Linked DNA regions of Homo sapiens: region 1 is linked to region 2. Evidence: promoter capture Hi-C in human tissues and cell types (Jung and others, 2019). All regions are on one chromosome and are shown on one strand. Each heading gives the region's core, a stretch centred on a gene start or on the middle of the fragment in contact. The rest is flanking DNA. Distances are from core to core; before and after follow the strand shown. Region 1 overlaps DNAJC7 (DnaJ heat shock protein family (Hsp40) member C7). Region 2 holds the start of RARA (retinoic acid receptor alpha).

Region 1 (6,062 bases), core at 2,976-5,475, 1.7 Mb before region 2:
TTGGGACCTTTAAGATGGCTAGAGTGGAAGGTTTTAGAATCACAAGGAATGTGATAGCTTTTCCTCCTGCTTTGCAAGGATGCTTGGTCTTTATTAGAAATGGTTTCAGGACTACTTGTATTTACCTAAAGGTAGATGTGATCATATAGGGTCGGATGCCTTTAATATCTAAGAGGGTTTTTTTGTTTTGTTTTTCCCCTCAGTGAAGATAGATAGTAATACTTGTCCTGAGAAGTGAAGGCAGACCCAGTAACATAGGTCTCATTGGTATTTTTGGTAACTCTTTTCCTGTCCACTCTGTAGGAAGCTCAAATGAGCAACAGATAGCCCAGATTGGGGGTTGGCGGGGCTCTGTGATGCTGAACTGCTGGAAGCAAAGAACTTGAAAATAGAGTCTGGCCTCTCTGTGCAATGGTCTGAGGCTTTGTGGATATGAACCGATCCTCCCCTTGCTTTTTTCTGTAGAATGCCAAAGCACTCAAAGCAAAGAAAGAAGATGGGAATAAAGCATTTAAGGAAGGAAATTACAAACTAGCATATGAACTGTACACAGAAGCCCTGGGGATAGACCCCAACAATATAAAAACAAATGCTAAACTCTACTGTAATCGGGGTACGGTTAATTCCAAGGTAAGCTCTTGATCTAGATCTTGGGGCCTATAGAAATATTTTTAAGGGACATCAAAGGGTCTTGGGAAATCTGCCTAGTGAGGGTAAGCAAGATGAAAGAGGGAAAGTTGTTATGGTTAATAGTTTGTTAGGAACTCCCTTCCAAGAGGCAAGCTTTTGTCATCTCTATGGAATTTGAGGGCAGTTGGACAATTTGCAAGGATATTCTCACCTGTTCATTAAGGTCCCTTTCCTCCAGTAAGAGAATGGCTAGGGTCTGTGGGATAATCTTAAGCACCTACTGTTGCTTTTTTGTTGTTTTGCTTATGCAAGTGATCATTTATTTTTTAGGAGTGATTTGGAGGAAGAGTATGAGGCAAGCTTGTTTTTCTCCAGTGTAATTGATGGTCACCATGCATGGTTGAAAATGGCCTGAGTGCTTTTGTGGCCCTACCCAACATCAGAAACAAAAAGTAGACTCCTTGCCCTTGCAGAATTCTAGCAGTTAAAAATCAGAGTGATTTCTGATCCCTGCAGGTGACCTCTGGAAAAAAGGAGGGCAGGAACCAGCCTTACTATTTTCATGTTTTCATTGGGCACTAACATGGAATGGTAAAGGTAGTTTATCCTTGAAGACAGATGTGCCTGGCTTGTATCATATACAAGAGAAATCAATTTTGAAGTTGCTGTCCATAGCCCTGGTGACAAAGAACTAGAACTTAATATGACATTTAAGGGGCCAGCATGACTGATCCTCTTAGAGTTTTGAAGCCATGCTCACAGCTTCTGGGCTCCCTCAGTCACCAAAGGTGTGAAGTATGATTGCTCTCTCTCTCCTGAAGCTTAGGAAACTAGATGATGCAATAGAAGACTGCACAAATGCAGTGAAGCTTGATGACACTTACATAAAAGCCTACTTGAGAAGAGCTCAGTGGTAAGTGCCTCTGATGGGTAGGGGGAAGAGGGAGTTGCCGCTGGCCTCAGGGGAATTGCCTTGTGGATGACGAAGCAGACCCAGAGATGTTGTGAGGTCATTTGGTCCTTCCCCCTGCCTCTAGGTGGGATTGTTCCAGCCCTAGACTATCTTTATAGACCTCCAGCGGAGGAGATTGCACAAGCTCCCTCAGTCTCCCATGCCTGTGTCTAACGCCCCTCACGGTCAGTAAGTTTCCTCTGATGCCTGACCCAAATTCCTTTTGTTAAAAAGTTTAAATCCATTTCCTTTGGAGATTTTATTTTGTGTTGTACACTTATGCTCTACCCTGGCACAGTGCTTGACACATAGGTGCTCACTGAATAAATGTTTTGTTGAATGAATGTATGGTGCTTGGAAGAGAAAACAACTCTTGGAGACAGTTGAGAGTTGTACTTCATCCTGTTTGTTCTGGGCGAGGGAAGACAATCTTAGAGTTGGAAGAGATGTAATCCGGCTCAGCCTCCCAGGATAAAGGAACTTCCTTTTGAAACACCCTGGATGGCTACTCTCTGCTTGAGTGTTTTGAGTGGAGGGCACTCTGTGTCTGACAGGGTGATTATGAGCCAGGATGTGCCTACCTCTAATGCTCACATTTGCCCCAGAGTCAGGGTGCTCCCTGGCATGGTTGCTCCTCTTACTCTTAGACCCACCAGCTGGTTTTCTCCAGATAGGAACAGGGCTAGGAGAAATCTTTCTCAGAAATCCATCTCTTCTGATTTCAGATTATTCTCTAGGCGGAGAAAAACTTCCCGTCTTTAAAGTTCTTAGAGAAGATGTATTTATTGTATACTAATCCTCCAGCACCTGCTCCACTCCTTATTATAAAATGTCATATCCAAAGAACAGATGCTGTCACTGATGCCTGATGAGCCAGTAGTTTAAGCTTCCTTGTCTCATCAGTGGTACAGAATATCTCATGGACTACCTCCCACTTAGTTTTCTCAAAATTATCTCACTTAAAATAGGAAAACTGCTGCTGTGTGTGATGCTTTTTTTAAAAGTGAATTTCTAAGTTGATGACTAAGTCTGTCCAACAGAAACATACAGGGAATTATAACTTCTGTGAGACTGACTGTCAGTCATTCCATCTTTGCAAACCACTGGCACACAGAAGCAGAAGCTTTGGAAGACAAAAAAAGCACCCTTTGATTCAGCCAAAGACTGACTTTAACAGACGCAAAATGCTATATACATGAAGGTGTTTGCTGCAATTTTATCTATAATAGCAAAAAAAAAAAAAAAAAAAGGCGGGGGGAGAATCACCTACATGTCCAGTGGGAAGGGGGTGGCTAGATACTTGATACTGTATGAACTTAATGGAATGCTCTGTATATGGAATGCCAGGGGATGGGAAGAGAAGAGAAAAATCGCTTTGTTTTATTTTTTGGGATGGAGTCTCGCTATGTCGCTCGGGATGGAGTCTCGCTATGTCGCTCAGGCTGGAGTGCAGTAGCACCGTACTGGCTCACTGCAACCTCCACCTCCTGAGTTCAAGCGAATTTCCTGCTTCAGCCTCCGAAGTAGCTGAGATTACCGGCGCATGTCACCACACCCAGCAAATTTTTGTATTTTTATTGGAGATGGGGTTTCATCATGTTGGCCAGGCTGTTCTCAAACTCCTGATGACAAGTGATCTGCCTGTCTTGGCCTCCCAAAGTTCTGGAATTACCAGCAGGTGTGAGCCACCGCGCCCGGCCTTTTTTTTTTTTTTTTTTTTTTTTTTTTTTTTAAGCAAGCCCCCAACACCATAGAAAATTCTTGATTTGCTCGGAGGATAATTGGATGAAGGATTATTTTCTTCTTTGTTTATGTGCAAGAAATGAAAATAAGGAATTGCTTTGATCAGACAACTTCTTATCTTTGTGGTAGAAACAGAACTGCCCTTCTTGGAGTGGCTCTGCCTCTGAGATCACTACAGGGGAGACAGCATGCCCTGTTCAGCTGGCTGAATATTTGGCAACAATCTCCTGAAGCAGCTGGAATTGACAAGAAGTACTGGAGATTAGCTCGGGCCAAACCCTTACATCTGGCCTGACTACTGCTGCAGTCTGCCTCAACTTACCCCTAAAGCTGGGGAGATGCCACCCACCCACATCTTTGCTACACATGCCATCATGAGCTAGAGTTCACCCTTTCTCCTTAAAGCCCTATTTACTTTTCTACTTCAACTTTAAAACAAAATTAAAATGTGAGGATATCCCTGAATTTTAAAAAGCATGAAGTAAAAATGCAAATTAGTATAGTTTGTTTAATACATTACATATAGACCTAAAGAAAGTTCATCAGGGTTAATCATTTGTCACATCATTCTATACCCAGGGCTATCAGCTATCAATTTTCCTTTTTTTTTTTTTTTTAATTCAGGATCCAGCTCTGTCACCCAGGCTGGAGTGCAGTATCAAAGTATCATTTCTCTTACTTCAAATTATTACATTTTATTCTGTACATTGATTCTGAACTCCTAATATAATATTTATGTCCTGTATTTGCAGGCCATTGGTTTTTTTAAAGTCATAAATCAAAATGATGCCAGAAAATCAAAGATGCCCAAGATGTTGGGCTTCTCTTTTGCCAGCCACATTGGTAGCACTCTCCTGCCCTGGCCTCCAAGCTGGTGGGGATCTGTGATGTTTGTGAAAATGGGCTTATGCCAGGCGCAGTGGCTCACGCCTATAATCCCAGCACTTTGGGAGGCCGAGGCGGGCAGATCGGTTCAGGTCAGGAGATCGAGACCAGCCTGGCCAACATGGTGAAACCCCATCTCTACTAAAAATACAAAAAATTAGCCAGGTGTGGTGGCACATGCCTGTAATCCCAGCTACTCAGGAGGCTGAGGCAGGAGAATCACTTGAAACCTGGGAGGCGGAGGTTGCAGTGAGCAGAGATCGTGCCATTACACTCCAGCCTGGGCTACAGAGTGAGACTCTGTGTCAAAAAAAAAAAAGAAAGAAAATGGGCTTGTGTGGTAGCAGGTAAGAAATTGAATCTCTGTTGTACAGCAGCTAGCTGTACTGCATGATCACTTCCCATTCCCCAGCTGACAGTGGCTGTCTCTGGAACTCCTACCACAGTCTTCAATTGGTAGGCCAGCCCTGGTGCCAGTGATTTTATCTGGGCATGGAAAATGCCACTTGCTTCTGTGGAAGAGACACTTAAAAGATCTGGCAGTCGGCCGGGTGCGGTGGCTCACGCCTATAATCCCAACACTCTGGGAGGTCAAGGCAGGCGGATCACGAGGTCAGGAGATGGAGACCATCCTGGCTAACACGGTGAAACCCTGTCTCTACTAAAAAAAAAAATAAAAAATTAGCTGGGCGAGGTGGCGGGCGCCTGTAGTCCCAGCTACTCTGGAGGCTGAGGCAGGAGAATGGCGTGAACCCAGGAGGCGGAGCTTGCAGTGATCCGAGATCACACCACTGCACTGCAGTCTGGGCAACAGAGCGAGACTCCATCTCAAAAAAAAAAAAAAAAAAAAAAGATCTCGCAATCATCCTGTCAAGCTTGATTCCTCCGATCTTGGGCCAAGGGCCCCTCCTTTCTTTTGTGCTACTGAAATAGAAGCAAACCTGTGTTTAGAGTTCCCTTTTCTGTCTCATTTACCTGCATCTCTCATTGATTGGTCTTAGTGGAGGGATTTGCCAGCAGCTGCCACGTTGAACTTGATCCTTTTAGTGGCTCACTAATCCCACCTCTATTCTGGATTGTAGCTAGTCCTGCATGTTTATGGCACTATAGGTTTCAAAGCTCTTTCATACCCATTTATTCACTTGATAATTTTTCTCTTGTGTGTTTCAACCCAAAGTAATCAAGTAGATCCCTTCACATTGTCTTTTCTAAGGCAGTCCAGTACCTCTTAGGTGGCTGTGTGTCAGAAGGAACTTTTTCCTCTTGATTACTTTCTGCTCAAAGCTGAACATCACTTTGCTGGTTGGATGCAAGTGCCATGCGACCTCTCTTTTTATTTCCTTGAGGACTTGTTAGCTAATTTTCTCTCACTGCTAGATTAAGGGCTCCTGTTTCTGAAGCATCTTACCAGAAGTGTGTGTCTCTTGCTTGAGCCATGCCTCTTGCCCTAGAGTGATCCTGAGAACCACTGCTATTTATGTCTTAGTGCTGTATTGCCTTGTATTTCCTTCTCAGTTACATGGACACAGAACAGTATGAAGAAGCAGTACGAGACTATGAAAAAGTATACCAGACAGAGAAAACAAAAGGTAAGTTTAAAAGCATTTGTTTTTTAGGGAACTGTGTGGACTTCGTAGGCCATAAATCTGTACACAAGGTAGTTTGATTCAGGGATCAGGGATCTACCTAGAACTTATTTGATCACCAGCCAGAAAGAAGTGAACAAAGGCTGGGCGTGGTGGCTCACGCCTGTAATCCCCAGCACTTTGGGAGGCTGAGGCAGGCAGATCACCTGAGATCAGGAGTTGGAGACCAGACTGGCCAACATGGTGAAACCCCATCTCTACTGAAA
Region 2 (6,230 bases), core at 2,761-5,260:
CCCTTCTGTAAGGTGTCTCCTAGCCCCACAGCTCACCAGCCTGTGAGCCTGCTGGAGCCTGTCCAGCAGCTCCATTCACACCAGTGGCCACAGGCCACCCAAACAAACCCAACTCTGACCTCCTTCTAGCCTGGACACAGACTCTTTCCACATGGAGACTTATAAACAAACCAAGCTGGGATTTTCAGAGACCCTGCACAAAAAAGCAGATGGGAAAATGGACCAGGTGTGCCTGGCTCGTGGTCCTCCTTGCTGCAGTAGGGAAGGGAAGCACACTGAGCTGTGGTGAGGAACCATGACAACAGAAAAATGGTGCAAAGGGAGGGCCTGGGTTCAGGTCTCAACACAGCCAATGACTGATTGAGTGTTCTCTCTAGGCCTCAGTTTCCTTCTCTGCAAGGGGAAGGGATTGCCTAGGTAGCCTCTAAAACCCCTTCCAGCTCTGAGTCCAGCTGGATAAAGAAAACCCTGTAGGGTGCCAGGACTCTTCCACCCAGTCCAGCCCGGCCCATCTACCTGGGTCATGCCCCTCTGGGTAAGGTCCTGCCCCTGCTCCCCATGCCTCCTTGCTGTCTTCTGCCCCTCTGGCCCTTCCTCACTCCTCTGCCTGCCTGCTTACCCTCACCTTGGCCAGCCCCTCTGCCTGCCCCGTGCTTTTCTGCACGTCCCTCCTGCCAGGGGACTGACCAACTAAAAATAGTCCCTGCAGCCTTTCTCGCCCACAGCTGCCCAAAGAGCAGGAAATGAGGGGGGCAGGGAGGCCCATGCCCTGCCTTACCCCCACTAACTCCCAGGTCAGAATCATGTCCAGCACTCCAGCCTGGGGCTAGCGCCAACTTGGCCATCCTGGGGGCATCCCACACCCCTTTCCTAGGGGGAGGCCTGCCCATAAGTGCCTGCAATCACAGAGCTGCCCCTACCCTGCGGGAGGAGGAGAAAGGAGGCAAGCGGTCTAGAGGGAAACCTTCCCAATTTCTGACAAATCAGTGCCAACCACATTGTGGGCACCCAAAGGGCAGGGCCTGGCTCCACTGACTGGTCTTTTGAGGGCAGAAGGAATTGGCTTGGGGAAGTTTGTGACAGTCTCCTTCATCCTGGCCCAACTGGAGGGAAGACAAAATAGTGCCCCAGCCTCAATTATGTTAGTCCCTTGCTCCCCAAAACCAGGGATTTCACTAGCCACCTGCAGATATCATGGGGAAAAAAACTAAAAAATGAGAGCAGGAGATGTAGGCTTCTGTAAAGAGAGAAGCCTGGAGGCAAGAATAGGCCATGCCTGCCAGGCTGGGCATGTGCTGCCCCCAAGCTGAGTCAGAGGCTAGGAGGGAGAAGCTGGGGTGCTACAGTGCCAGAGGCTACTGTGCCCCCACCCCTGTCCCACCTGGGATTCCTGACACCTCCCAGCCCTAGGGGAAGGCCCTCCCCACAAAGGAGGAAGGAAACCAGCTAAGCGACTCTCTGGAGCCCTGCAGGGGAGCCCTGCACCACAGGCAGGGAAACCCAGGAGTCCTGGCGCCCAGCCCAGAGACAGTGAAATATCTTGGAGGGGAGGAAACAGCCCAGATTGAGGCAGACATGTGGCACCCCCAGAAGCTCCCAGATGTGACCTACTGGCCAAAGGGGCTAGATGAGGCAAAGTGAAACATTTCTGAACAAGAAGAGAGAAGAAAGTGGGGCTATGGGAATGGGGTGGCGGGGGTCAGCCTGGCTCATCGCTGTCCTTTCCTCCTTGTCAGAGTCAGTGACACTGACATTAAGGTCATCGAATATCAACCAGGTCCTGAGGACCTTGGTGTGTTTCCTCCTCTCCTAGTCTCCAGACCCCAGCCTGTTCATTCCTGAGCTTCCTCTGGCACCCCTTCCTTGGGGCCAAGCCAAGTAAGAAATCAGCAGGCCCAAGGTGGTGCTTGGGAGGCCGGGGCAGTGCCAGGGGCAGTCCTCATACCATCCTCCCACTGGCTTCCCTCCTGCCTGCTCTTAGCCGCCACACATATCTCAGCTGTCGAATCCGATTAGGGCTCCTGCCCAGTGAGCCAGACAAGGAGGCCACTGGGCAGGGGAGAGAGAGACAAGGACGCCAAGCAGGGATGGCAGAAGGAAGGTGGAGACATGGCTCAGGGGAGCAAGTATGGGGCCCCAGAGGAAGAAATGCCTGGTGGAGAGATCTGTACTCTGTGACCACAGGTGCTCTGGTAACAGCTACAACCTGCATTAGGGGAATTCTGCAGTAACCGGGGCAATAGCCCTGCCTAGTTCCTCCATCCCCCAGATGGGCAAAGGATGGGGGAAGAAAACTAAAGGCGGAGAGATTGACCTAGATTTAGGAAGAGGATTCCATCCTAGATTCCCCCAGCCATTACTACCGTTTGCAGTGAGCTTTACGATACATTGTCTCTGTGGTTTTAGTGGCAATGTCCCTGCTTGCTACTGATAGCCATTTTTACAAATGGAGAAACTAAGGCTTAGCAAAGGGGAAGACCTATATAAACACATATAGTTAAGTAACCAGTCTAAGTCTCCAGTTCAGGCCTCTGATTCCTAGTTCACTGCTCACAGTCAGAATCTCTACTTTCCTTGTTGGATCAAGACCAGAACGAAGTCTGAAGCCAATTCATTATCCACCCTGTCCTCTAAAACCAACCTTTAGGGGACCCGGGGAGCCATGGAAGAATGCAGAGCACACCCCACACCTAGACAGAGCTACCAGATGGGGACATGCCACCCATTCCTATCATACATTGATTGCTAGAGGAGTTCCCTCAGTGTGACCAGTCTCTTCTATCACCCCCCTCCCCAGTCTACTACCCCCAGAAGCAAGACACACACTCACACATGGTAAGTCAGACAAGGTGTACACCCTTCCTGTAAACCCACCAAACCAGAATGACACGCCCTAGATCTTCAGAGAGCAGGGCCTGTCTGCCCACCACAGGAGAGAAAAATAAGCCACTGTAAACAGTAGGTGCCATCTAGCCCTCTCCCAGAGAGCCTGTAGCGGGGCAGAAGCTTGGGGACCTTGTAGCTCTAGAGAAACACCAGGAGCCTGAGATTCTGAAAGCCAAGAAGCTCAGGGAGCTGGCAAGGCTGGGTGACCTCCTCAATCTGGTCCACACCCCCTTCCCTAGCCATCTGGACTGAGCCTGTTCTGGCCTGGGCCACACTCTGGTATCCCTCCCCTTCAATGCATGCAGCCACCTCTATCCAAAGCTTCTAGATCTTACAACCACATTGTCCCTACACACACACACACACAGGTGGGGTCGGGGGGCTTCTGCAGCAGGTGTTGAAATGTTGACATGGATGGGGGCTCTAAGCTGAAAGAACTTTCCTAGAGGAAAAGCTCACCAAAATGCTCACAACCTCCACTACCCTCTAGCAAAGCCTTTAGCCACCCAAGTGTGAGATGAACCTGGAAGGGGACATTAGTTCCCCTACAAGGTGTGTAGGGAGTAGGGGCAAAGTCCTGAGCTCTTTGGGTGAGGAAGCAAGAAAGAAATCCCTTGGGAAAGCTCAGGTCCCTCTCTGGCTCTCTCCTCTCTCTGTTACCTCAGCACTTGCCAATTCTCCAGTCTAGGTGAGGTGGGGGAAGGGGTATTAGGCAATACCGCAAAGGAGGGTGCAAGGGCGTGGGGCCTGGGCAGACCTTCCCCCTACTCCCCACTCTTATCTAGAGAACGGGAACTGCCTCAGGAGAAATGCAGGAAGGGTGCTGGAGGGTGCAGAGGGCTCTGAGCTTTCAGACACCCCACTGTTCCCAGGCTCCCACCTCCCAGGACTACAGTGAGCGACGGGAGAGGAGGGATGGGGAAAGCCAGAACTGGCGAGAAGGAAATGGCTAGATCAGAAGCAGAGGCCGGGGTCAAAGGCGGCCAAAGAATTGGGAAGGGGTGTGCATGGTCCTACCTGCTCAGGTGTGTGCTGGCAGGGGGCCGATGGGGTTCCCAGGAGAACCGGGGAAGCCCTCTCAGCTCGATTCAGGATTCCCCCCTGCTTCTGGGTTAGGCTGCTGCAAGAGGCACGGGTTCCCGTTGGGTCCTAAAGCCCACTCGCCAACTAGAAGGCTCTCCCCGCCCTCTTCCACCAGCCAGCCCCGACTGGGTCAGCGGGCGCAGAGCGAAGGACTGATGGGGGAGAAGTAACCCACTGGAAGAAAGATGGGCGTCTGGTCATCGGCTGGGGACAGGAACAGTTCCCTGTCTCAAATACACAGCATATGGATAACTCGAGGATAGGATGACCTGAAACAGGAGAAAATAGACATTTCTTCCTGCCTGCCCTGAGCAGATGGATTTAGGTTTTGGTGCTGGAGGTGGGGTTAAGATCTCTTTCCCTGCCACTCCTGCTAAGGCATTCAGCTAGAGATTTTGGAAAGGGAGCATTCATTTTGGTTGGGCGCTCACTTCTGTCCTCTTCCTCATGGACTGCAGGAGTCCCTTCATCCCTCCCAATTATTCCCAAGGACCTAGGAGGCCATAGAGGGTGAAAAAAGATTTTCAGCATGTAAAAAGTGCAGGCTCACTTAGATGGCAGCTGGAAACAGGGGAAACATGTAGGACCAATGTATGTGTATCTGGGAATGTGTGGGGTCTGCAAATACACATATATAGGCAAGAGTATAAACAGGTGGGGTTAGGGAAGGAGAAAAAAACAAAAAAGAACTTTGGGTTACACCTATTACTGGAAATGGTAATTGTCAGTGGAAGAACAGGACGTAGAACCTAGAGGTCAACTAGTGCCCCTACCCAGCCCTCAGTAATGTCCCGAATCTTTATGACCAGAATAAACAAGTTAAAGAGAGAATATTTTCCTAGATACCATTTAGGATAAATATAGGGGCAGAGGGACCTCAATACAACAGATCAACTTCAAGGTCACTGATTCAGTTTAGTATAGCCAGTCTTCTCAGTAGCTCAAAAGGGAGAATTCAGGTTTGGTGGGCTAGATGGGCAAGAGAAAGCTGGATAAGAATTCTGAAGTTGTGGATTGAGAACATTTTGCAAGGAGAGTTGCACATATCTCTAGCAGCAGAGCAGGGAAAACGTCATGAGGGGAAGGGCCAGAGGAAGTCAGCGACAGACTTGAGGGGAGAGGGCATGGCCTCTCCCTAGAAGGGGAGAAGACACCAGCAATGCCTCCACCTCTGTCTTGCAGGAAGAACTGAGTAAAGGAGCTGGACTAAGGATGGAAGGCCCCAGGGTGGAGTCCATGGGGTGAGTTTAGGTCAAACCTTTCACCCTAATGTGCCTCAGTTCTCTCCCAGCTGTTAAACAGGGCTCTTCGTTCTTCCCAGGCAGTTAATGAGTGTTTACAAAAGGGTTTGGAGATCCTCAGATCTCAGCTGGGCCACCACTACAGTTATAAAGTTCAATAAGAGCTGAGTGTTATTTGGGGAGGAGAGGAGTAGGGGAAGGAAACAGATACTCTCTTATAAACTAAGGATAAAACTAAGCTCAGAGAGAAGCACAAGCCTAGCTGCCACAGGATATCCTTGTGCCCATGGATGGAGGTCACCCCACCCCCCCATCAACCACCACCAAAGGCTGGCCTCCAGCTAGCTGTAGGCAGAACCCAGACTAGCAGCTGGTCTTCATTAACTCCAGCTTTTTCACCCCCCACTGTGAACCCACAGCTTCTACAGGCCTAGGCTAGAGGGGGCTGCCCTAGCCCGACCTTGCAGCTGACACTGGGGTGGGGGGCACCGCACCAAAGGCCAAGTTACCAGCTGAAAAGAAAGTTGAAGCAAGAGTCCTTTTTCCCATTGGGAGCAAGAAGAAAGCAGTGTGGGGGTGAGAGGGTGGAGGTGGGGGAATTTAGGGCAAACAGCAGGCAGTGAAGTCAGCTGGATTGAGGCCCAGAAACCCCCACACCCTGGGGCCAAGTCTTACTCTAGCTTTGCTTTCAGCTTAAGTCTTGGCGAGGCCCCAAACTAGGGAAGGCCCTGGTTGCCCCTTTCCGCCTCCCTACCCCCACCCTTATTAAATACACATTTTATCTCTCAGCATCTTCATTATCTTAACTGAAGGAGACAAGCAGTGGATGGCGGCAGCAGAGAGCGTCAGGAGCGGGGGGCGGTGCGGGGAGCAGGCGCACCCTTGTTATAAAGTGCTGATCTAGCTCTTTCAGGCAGTGTGGGAAACAGAGGAGGGATCAAAGGGAGTGAGGCTGATTCAGAACTCAATTAGAGCTTTTTAAAAAACGAAGCTGGCTCTCTCCTTTCACCAGTCTTCAGC

The links. Contacts are between HindIII fragments. The study calls those that stand out against the background at their distance.
Region 1: a fragment that was not itself captured here is called in contact with the fragment with the promoter of RARA in region 2 in 1 of the 25 tissues and cell types used here (bladder).

What each region holds. Positions count from the first base shown.
Region 1 is chr17:41,983,300-41,989,361 of GRCh38, reverse strand. DNAJC7 (DnaJ heat shock protein family (Hsp40) member C7) reads left to right here. Exons shown (of 14, transcript NM_003315.4): 8 at 466-630; 9 at 1,452-1,543; 10 at 5,726-5,799. Among named protein-coding and RNA genes, the nearest start is that of CNP, 20 kb to the right of the region's middle. RefSeq lists enhancers at 417-917, 918-1,418. The HindIII fragment of the contact is 3,275 bases long and covers 2,588-5,862 here.
Region 2 is chr17:40,306,960-40,313,189 of GRCh38, reverse strand. RARA (retinoic acid receptor alpha) reads right to left here and starts at 4,010. Exons shown (of 9, transcript NM_000964.4): 1 at 3,904-4,010. RefSeq lists enhancers at 724-1,224, 2,814-3,697, 4,009-4,138, 4,149-4,318, 3,698-4,583. The HindIII fragment of the contact is 8,948 bases long and covers 47-6,230 here.